Regions from separate parts of the Homo sapiens genome. Here region 2 is linked to region 1. The links are contacts of gene promoters, found by promoter capture Hi-C in human tissues and cell types (Jung and others, 2019). All regions are on one chromosome and are shown on one strand. The core of a region is centred on a gene start or on the middle of the fragment in contact, and the rest is flanking DNA. Distances in the headings are between cores, read along the strand shown.

Region 1 (4,451 bases), core at 1,361-3,860:
TACAGGTGCCCACCACCACGCCTGGCTAATTTTTTGTATTTTTAGTAGAGCCGGGGTTTCACCGTGTTAGCTGGGATGGTATTGATCTCCTGAACTCGTGATCTGCCCGCCTCGGCCTCCCAAAGTGTTGGCATTACAGGTGTGAGCCACTGCGCCCAGGCAGCATATGTACATATTTCTATATAGGTATACACATGCAGTGCTAACATTAGTCTTTTAAAAAGGGAGAAATACACATTTATATATTTATATATAATATATATAGAGAGAGTAAATTACTGAAAGTGATGCCTCTAGGTAGTGGGGTATGAAGAGTCTAAGAGGAAGGCCAGGCACAGTGGCTCGCGTCTGTAATTCCAACACTTTGGGAGGCTGAGGCGGGTGGATCGCTTGACGTCAGGAGTTTGAGACCAGCCTGGCCAACATGTTGAAACCCCGTCTCTACCAAAAAATACAAGTTAGCTGGGCGTGGTGGTGCACACCTGTAATCTCAGCTACTTGGGAGGCTGAGGTAGGAGAATCACTTGAACCCGGGAGGCAGAGGTTGCAGTGAGCCAAGATTGCACCACTGCACTCCAGCCAGGGTGACACAGAGAGACCCTGTCCAAAAAAAAAAAGAGTCTAAGAGAAAAAGAAGGTAGATAAATAAACCAAATGATCAAATCTAACTTCAGCAAAACTGCAACGAACTGACATCAGGCACTCTGGAAGGGCCACACTGACAGAGACACAACGTTGCCTCTCACATATTCCTGGTAAAAACATTTAAGCTGAAGCTAATCATGAGGCGAAAATCAGACAAATCCAAATTGAGCGATATTCTGCAAAACACTGGGCTGGATTCTTTAAAAATGTCATTTGGCCTACAGAGGACAGCCAAATAAAAATGAAAATATCATTGTCATGAAAGACACAAAAGGCAGGGACACCATATTAAAAGAGACCAAAGAGATATGACAACAGAATACAATTGGTGATTCTTGATTGGATAGAAAAAATATAAACAACTATAACACATGTTATTGGGATAAATGGAAAAACTGAAATATGGACTGTGTATCAGAGTATTGTATCATTGTTAAATTTTCTAAATGTGTTATTTGTACTGTGATGATGTAGGAGAATGTCCTTGTTCTTGGCAGATAACTGCTGAAAGAAGTGGTGAATTATTAGTAGTCTACAACTAACTCTTGAAAGGTCCAGTGAAAATAAATACATAAATGGGAGAGAGAAAACACCAGAGCGAAAGCGAGCACACAAAAATAAGGCAAAATGGTGCAGCTAAGTGAAGGACGGGTTTATAAATATTCAATGTACTGCTCTTGCAACTTTCCTGTACATCTGAAAATTTTCAAAACAAACAGATGGGAAGAAAAAAATGAATATAGTACAAAATATGTGCAGTATCATAGTCTGCACTGTAAGTAAAAGTGTAAAGTCTTTTGTAGACCTTGGATTCTAACTACAGCTTTGTAGTGCATTAATGAAAAAGGTAAACATTAAACAATATCCAACAAAATAAAATAAAAATAAAAATGCCTTGTAAAGGGTGAATGAGATTAATTATTTTAAATGTTATGCAATGTACACCATTGACAATTAGGATACAATGCAAATTTAACATTATAACTACTCCTAACATAATATTTTCACAGCAAAGGTCTGAATTTTTACTGCACCTCTGGTTCACAACCATAAACAATTATATCTGTACAGTAATAATAATTTTAAAAACATCATTCTAGCTGGTTGCACTTGGATTGTCAATAATCCACAAATCCCACTAAAGAAAATTTTTTACCCGTTACATTTTCTAGAATGACTACCTCATTTCCCAACTTTGAAGTAACAGCTTTTAACTAAAAGGTTGCTTCAAAACTACTATTAAAAAGTGGTTCCTATAAAACACTACTGCTTGACCCAAAAAATAAAATAAAGCACACAGCCCAGCTTTCCTCTCAATTGGTCACTAAACCAGTATCATGAAAAGGCAGGGAGCCACGCTGTAAGCGCTCCCCCGTTTTCTGCCGAATGTTCAGGAAAAGAGTGTCAGGTTCAAGCCAGCATTTAAAATAAAATAAAATGAATCACAGTCAACTCCCTAAACTCCAATGTAAGAACCACGCACCTGCACCAAAATATGCCTGAGCGGGAACTCGAGTCGGCTCTCCGAGACCCCAAAGTTCCCAACCTAGCCCCAACCCCTCAAGCTTCCCCCAGGGGCACCGGCTTCTCACAGCCGAGGGGGATTCGGGGCCCACATGCGGAGCCTCCCGGGCCTGTCGAGCCACGGCAGAAGGCGACGACGCCCGGCCCCACAGGCCCCTCAAGCTCCTCAAGCTCCCCCAGTCCCTCCCTCCCCCGCCACTCGCTCTCCAGTCCCTGCCCCTTTCCCCGGCCCCACTCACTCTTCATCTTGGATGCGGAAGCCGGTGACAACCCCTTGCCGACACTGGACGGAAAAGAAAGAAGCAGGAAGGTTGTCCCCCTGCTTTCCACTTCCCTGAGGCGGGGTCCCGCACTAGGATCTCCGTGGTGGTCCCTCGAAGGAGAGCGTTAGAGATCCCGCCGCCATGTTGTGTCCCTGTCACCCTAGCAACCGTCAGGCCCTGAACGCCATGAGCTGTCGCCTGCGCATGCGCAAGATGCCCCGCCCATGTACGCGTGCGCAGTGCAGCCCGTCCCCTCAGCCCGGTTGCTAAGCAGCCTTTCCTCCGCTTCCATGTAAATACTGTGCAAATCCCCGCCTTTGACACAGGCGACCTTCGCTCGGCTCGCTCTCCCTGCTGGCCTGGGAACTTAGCGATTTGGAACCCACTACGTGGACGATAGCCTTGAGCTTTAATTGGGCTTGGGAGCTTCTACAGGAATTTTTTTTTTTTTTTGAGACAGAGTGTCGCTCTGTTACCCAGGTTGGGGTGCAATGGCGTGATCTCGGCTCACTGCAACCTCCGCCTCCCGGCTTCAAGCGATTCTCCTGCCTCAGCCTCCCAAGTAGCTGGGATTACAGGCACCCACCACTACACCCGGCTAATGTTTTTGTATTTTTAGTAGAGACGGGGTTTCACCATGTTAGGCTGGTCTCGAACTCCTGACCTCAGGTGATCCGCCTGCCTCGGCCTCCCGAAGTGCTGGGATTACAGGCGTGAGCCACCACGCCCGGCCCAGTTTTTCTTTTTAATTCAACAAGCATTTGTTTTTGCCCCAGGAACTGTCGCAGGTATTGGGGATTAAAGGACAGTGTAGACGAGGTGACTGAGTTCTTGAAACTAACATTCTAGTGTAAAGATGAATGAATGTACACCGGAATGAACTATGTGCAGACACGGTGCCTAAGCAACACAGTGGCCTAGTTCTCTGGACCCTGACAAAACAATAAAATAACAAGCATACTATGTATGGGTATAGTATTTTATGAAGCTCATTAGATTAGCCTCATAATTATTCCATGAGATCAAAACCCTGTTTTTTCCTCCATTTTTTTTCTTTTACTAAAATACATCGTTTATTTTTAAAACAGATAAGTAGCCTTGCCAAAACGAAGCCTCAGAAAATTGGTTTAAGACTGAATTGGCCAGGTGTGGTGGCTCACACCTGTAATCCCAGCACTTTGGAAGGCCGAGGCAAGAGGATCGCTTGAGGCCAGAAATTCAAGACCAGCCTGGGCAACATAGAGAAACCCCACTTCCCTCTTAAAAAAAAAAAAAAAAAAACTCCGGGCGTGGTGGCTCACGCCTGTAATCCCAGCACTTTGGGAGGCCAAGGCGGGCAGATCACGAGGTCAGGAAATCGAGACCATCCTGGCTAACACGGTGAAACCCCATCTCTACTAAAAATACAAAAAAAATTAGCCGGGCGTAGTGGCGGGCGCTATAGTTCCAGCTACTCCGGGGGCTGAGGCAGGAGAATGGCGTGAACCCTGGAGGCGGAGCTTGCAGTGAGCCGAGATTGCACCACCTGCACTGCAGCCTGGGCGACAGAGCAAGAGACTCAAAAAAAAAAAAAAAAAAAAAAAAAAGCCGGGCACGGTGGCACATGCCTGTAAACCCAGCTATTCAGGAGAATAAGGCGGAGGTATCTTGAGACCAGGAGTTCTAGGCTCAGTGAGCTATGATAGCACCACTGCACTCTAGCCTGGGTGACAAAGCAAGACCTTGTCTCGAAAGAAAGAGAAAGCGGCCGGTCGCGGTGGCTCACACCTGCAATCCCAGCACGTTGGGCGGCCGAGGCAGGCAGATCACTTGAGTCCAGGAGTTCGAGACCAGCCTGGCCAACATGGGGGAAACCCCGTCTCTACTAAAAAAATACAAAACGGCTGGGCACAGTGGCTGATGCCTGTAATCCCAGCACTTTGGGAGGCCAAGGCGGGTGGATCCCCAGGTCAGGAGTTCAAGACTAGCCTGGCCAAGATGGTGAAACCCCATCTCTACTGAAAATAGAAAAATGAGCCG
Region 2 (4,585 bases), core at 1,177-3,676, 1.1 Mb after region 1:
GAGTAGCTGGGACTACAGGCGTGCCCCACCACATGCATGGCTAATTTTTAATTTTTTCGTAGAGATGAGATCTCCCTGTATTGCCCAAGGTGGTCTCTAACTCCTGGGCTCAAGCAGGCCTCCTGTCCCAGCCTCCCAAAGCACTGGAATTACAGGTGTGAGCCACCACACTCAGTCAAAACTATTTTTTAAAATATTTTATTATAGGAAAATTTAAAAAAATAGAATGTTATTTATCAATGCTTCTCAGCCACAGGGTGATTTTGCCCTCTAGTGGACATTTGACAATGTCTAAAGACATCTTTGGTTATCACAGCTGGAGAAAGGTTTGGCTGACCAGGAATGCTACTAAACATTTTACAGTACGTAGGACAGCCTTCCACAGCAAAGAATTACCCGGCCTAAAATGTCAGTAGTGCCAGCGTTGAGAAACCCTGGTATGTACTTAGCCCCCCATGTACTCAACAGCGCAGCTCAGTGGCCAATCTTATTTCATTTATAAATGAAGAAGCAAATGCAGTATCATTTCCTCTCTAAAGCTTTTAGAAGAGATAAAGCCTGTTTTAAGAAAAAAGCAATACTTTTATCATATTTTCTTAATATCAAATATGCAGTATTTAAATTTTCTCACATTTCTAATTTTTAAACTGTTCAAATTAGAATCCAGCTTGAATTCATACATTATAGTTGGCTGATATGTCAAATATGCTTTTTTTTTTTTTTTAATTGAGATGGAGTCTTGCTCTGTCGCCCAGGTTGGAGTGCAGTGGTGCAATCTCGGCTCACTGCCAACCTCTGCCGCCCGGGTTCAAGCGATTGTCGTGCGCAGCCTCCCGAGTAGCTGGGATTACAGGCTCCCGCCACCATGCCTGGCTATTTTTTTTTTTTTTTTTTTTTTTTTTTTAGTAGAGATGGGGTTTCGCCATGTTGGCCAGGCTGTTCTCAAACTCCTGACCTCAGGTGATCCGCCCGCCTTGGCCTCCCAAAGTGCTGGGATTACAGGCGTGAGCCACTGTACCTGGTCAAAATATGCTTTTTAAAGGCAACCAAACAGTTTGCATTTCAGTTTATGTTCTATAGTTATATGGAGCCACGGATACATCCTTTTTCTATACTGGCAAAATGAGAAACATATTTTTCACCTGAATTTCAAAGGATATGACACTTCGTAAGCCTGGTAATGTTATTGGCCAAAGTACCAGAGGCCCAGGGCTTTCCCAGTTATTTAACAGTTACTGATATGTGTGCATCATGTACTTATTATTAGTTAATGCAAATAGTCCCCCAAATTTCTGACCTCTGTGAAACTGATGATGCTGTTGTCTAGTCAGTCATCGGTTATGTGAGACTGAATTAACCTATTCAGCAAGTGTGAATGCCTACCGTGTGTATGATACTGTGCTAGGTGCTGTAGAGGCCATATACCTGGGACACATAGCTTTCCTGCTCTTTAGGATTTCCTGCTCCTTGCAGGACAAAGCAGCCTGAGCTTTATGAAACTAGTCTGTAACTCTCAAACTTAAGCAAACATTAGAATCACCTGAAGGGCTTTAGAACCGTGATCACTGGGCCCTACCCCTAGACCTTGATTTTACCCGTAGAATTGGAATTTCTAACAAGTTGCCAGGTGATGTTGATGCTCCAGGTCCGGGGACCACTCTTAAGAATCACTATAGCAGGAATTTCTGATGTTTATTTATTAAGAAAAAAAAATCACTGCCTTAGTGTGCAGTGAAGGCTTGCTAACTAAACTATACTCCTTTTAGATTGTACTGTGACTATCAAAGGAAGATTTCCAGACCATTTAATTGAGTTTTCAGGTTCCATGAGTTTAAAAAAAACTGTTTATTAAAAATTGTGGTTCTGGAAAATAACAATAGTTGCCATTTGGTGATCACTTAACTGTATACCAGCCAGCAATACTTTGTAGAGTATCTCATTTAAAATATGTAATATGGTTTTATTTAATTAGCTTTTTTTTTTTTTAAATTTCCTGAGGCGGAGTCTCACACTGTTACCTGGGCTGGAGTGCAGTGGCACGATCTCGCTCGCTGCAACCTCCGCCTCCCGGGTTCAAGCGATTCTCCTGCCTCAGCCTCCCAGGTAGCTAGGATTACAGGCAGCCGCCACCACACCCAGCTAATTTTTAAATTTTATTTTATTTTTTGAGACAGAGTTTCACTCTTGTTGCCCGGGCTGGAGTGCAGTGGCATGATCTTGGCTCACTGCAACCTCCGCCTCCTGGCTTCAAGCAATTCTGCCTCAGCCTCCCGAGTAGCTGGGATTACAGGTGCCTGTTACCATGCCCAGCTGATTTTTTTGTATTTTCGGTAGAGACTGGGTTTCACCATGTTGGCAGGCTGATCTGGAACTCCTGACCTCATGATCCTCCCACTTCCCTCCTCGGCCTCCCAAAGTGCTGGAATTACAGGCGTGAGCCACTGTGCCCCGGCTTAATCAGCTTGTCAACTTCTAAGCACAACCTGTTGAATCAAGCTGTTTGGGCCTTATCAGAAAAAAGTTGGCCTATAGTTTCAGCTACTCAGGAGGCTAAGGCCAGAGGATCACTTGAGGCCAGGAGTTCCAGTCGACCTGGACAACATGGTGAAACTATGTATCTTAAGAAAGAAAAAAAAAAGTTGATCTCTGAAGAATTCATGAAAATATTTAGTCAGTTTTCAGGGAAAGATCTTATAGACTTCAATTTGAGCATCCTTATCTTATGTATGTAAATGAGGTAAAGGTTGAAATTTGCAGTAAATAGAATTTTGGTCATTTAAGTTATGTAGCTCATGATATATACATTGTATAACTATTTAGACTTACATGGTGCATGATTTACATTGTAATTACATAGAGGCTTATACAGTCTAATAAAAATTAATATTAACTATTTGATTGCAAAGAGGATTGTTCTGCATTTTATTACTTTTTTTTTTTTTTTGAGACAGAGTTTCACTCTTGTTGCCAGGCTGGAGTGCAATCTCGTGACCTTGGCTCACTGCAACCTCCGCCTGCCAGCCTAAGTAGCTGGGGTTACAGGCACACACCACCATGCCCAGCTAATTTTTTGTATTTTTAGTAGGGATGGGGTTTCACCATGTTAGCCAGGCTGGTCTCAAACTCCTCACCTTGGGTTATCCGCCTGCCTTGGCCTCCCAAAGTGCTGGGATTACAGGCTTGAGCCACTGCGCTCGGCCTGCATTTTATTATTCTAAGATATAGCCAAATTTTATGCCTGGAATTTTTTCCTGGGCTGGAACAAATTCCTAGTAAGAGTCAGGGAATATTCCGTGACTTGTGGCTTTGGTTAAAAAAGAAAAAGGAGTCAGGGAATGCAGTACCCTCTGATCACCACTGGGAGGACTAAAGCAGAAAATTCATTTGTCTCATATCCATTTTCAAATTTCAAATTAAACATGAAGGAGAAAATAAATCTCTTACCTGGGAAGCTTTAATGTCCTGTCTCACACAAGAAGTTAAAGGTTGTGCTTGGAGTTGGTCTGCAAAAGTAATAAGGAATTTGTACTCACCCGTCTGCACCTGCTTGTACAGAACAATTGGAAGGGCAGAAGTTGGCTTTGAAAGAAAAGGCCTTTTTTTGGAGGTGGGAGGGGCATCCAATTTTGTCTTCAGCCGAGAGTTCGCTAGCACTACACTCTAGCCACTCAAGCTGCTCAACTATGGTTGGTCTTGTGTACTTCTGTGTGCACTAGATAAGACATTGTTTCTGTGGGTTATGTGGGACCTTGAAGTTCAGTGTTGAAGCTCAAACAAAGCAGGTGTTTTTTCTGTATTTCTTGTTGACAGGCATTTGCTTTTTGTTGGACCTAAATATTGTGGGGTTTGTGTATGGACATTTGACACAAAAATCTGTATTGGTAGAATTTAATATAAAATCAGAGAAGTTGAATTCACAGGTTTTGTTCATAGAATTTTACATAACTCTAGTCTTTTTTCTTTTTTTGTGATGGAGTCTTGCTCTGTTGCCCAGGCTGGAGTGCAGTGGCATGATCTTGGCTCACTGCAACCTCTGCCTCCTGGGTTCAAGTGATTGTCCTGCCTCAGCCTCCCGAGTAGCTGGGATTACAGGCACCCGCCACCACGCCTGGCTAATTTTTGTATTTTTAGTAGAAACGGGGTTTCACCATGGCCAGGCTGGTCTTGAACTCCTGACCTCAAGTGATCCACCTGCCTCGGCCTCCCAAAGTGCTAGGATTATAGGCATGAGCCACAGCGCCTGGCCACAATCTTACACTACTTTCCTGAAGGGATGTGTGATGGAAAGAGTCTGGGCTTGAAAGTGGAAGACAAAAATGAGAGTCTAAGACTGATCGAGATAAAGATTCTGAAGAGGTAGAATGGACCTCATAAGATGGAGCAAAAAAGAAGGAACAACATATAAAAGGAGAAATTAGAATTTAGAGTTATAGACTGGAATTTGAAACTAGTCTTGAGATTTAACTGTGGACAAATTCACTCGGCTGTGCCTCATGGTTTTTTTTTTTTTAAATCAAAAGAGAATAACATCATTCAAGTTGTGTCTTGGTTTTTTTGTTTGTTTACTTAGATTTTTATGACTTCA

Evidence for each region. Contacts are between HindIII fragments. The study calls those that stand out against the background at their distance.
Region 2: a fragment that was not itself captured here is called in contact with the fragment with the promoter of MOK in region 1 in 1 of the 25 tissues and cell types used here (spleen).

The regions. Positions count from the first base shown.
Region 1 is chr14:102,302,554-102,307,004 of GRCh38, forward strand. MOK (MOK protein kinase) reads right to left here and starts at 2,611. Exons shown (of 12, transcript NM_014226.3): 1 at 2,409-2,611. The coding sequence starts at 2,415. RefSeq lists enhancers at 2,492-3,014, 2,781-2,830. The HindIII fragment of the contact is 9,726 bases long and covers 1-4,451 here.
Region 2 is chr14:103,390,834-103,395,418 of GRCh38, forward strand. The region is part of intron 1 of MARK3 (microtubule affinity regulating kinase 3); the gene reads left to right. Among named protein-coding and RNA genes, the nearest start is that of MARK3, 7.7 kb to the left of the region's middle. The HindIII fragment of the contact is 4,446 bases long and covers 204-4,585 here.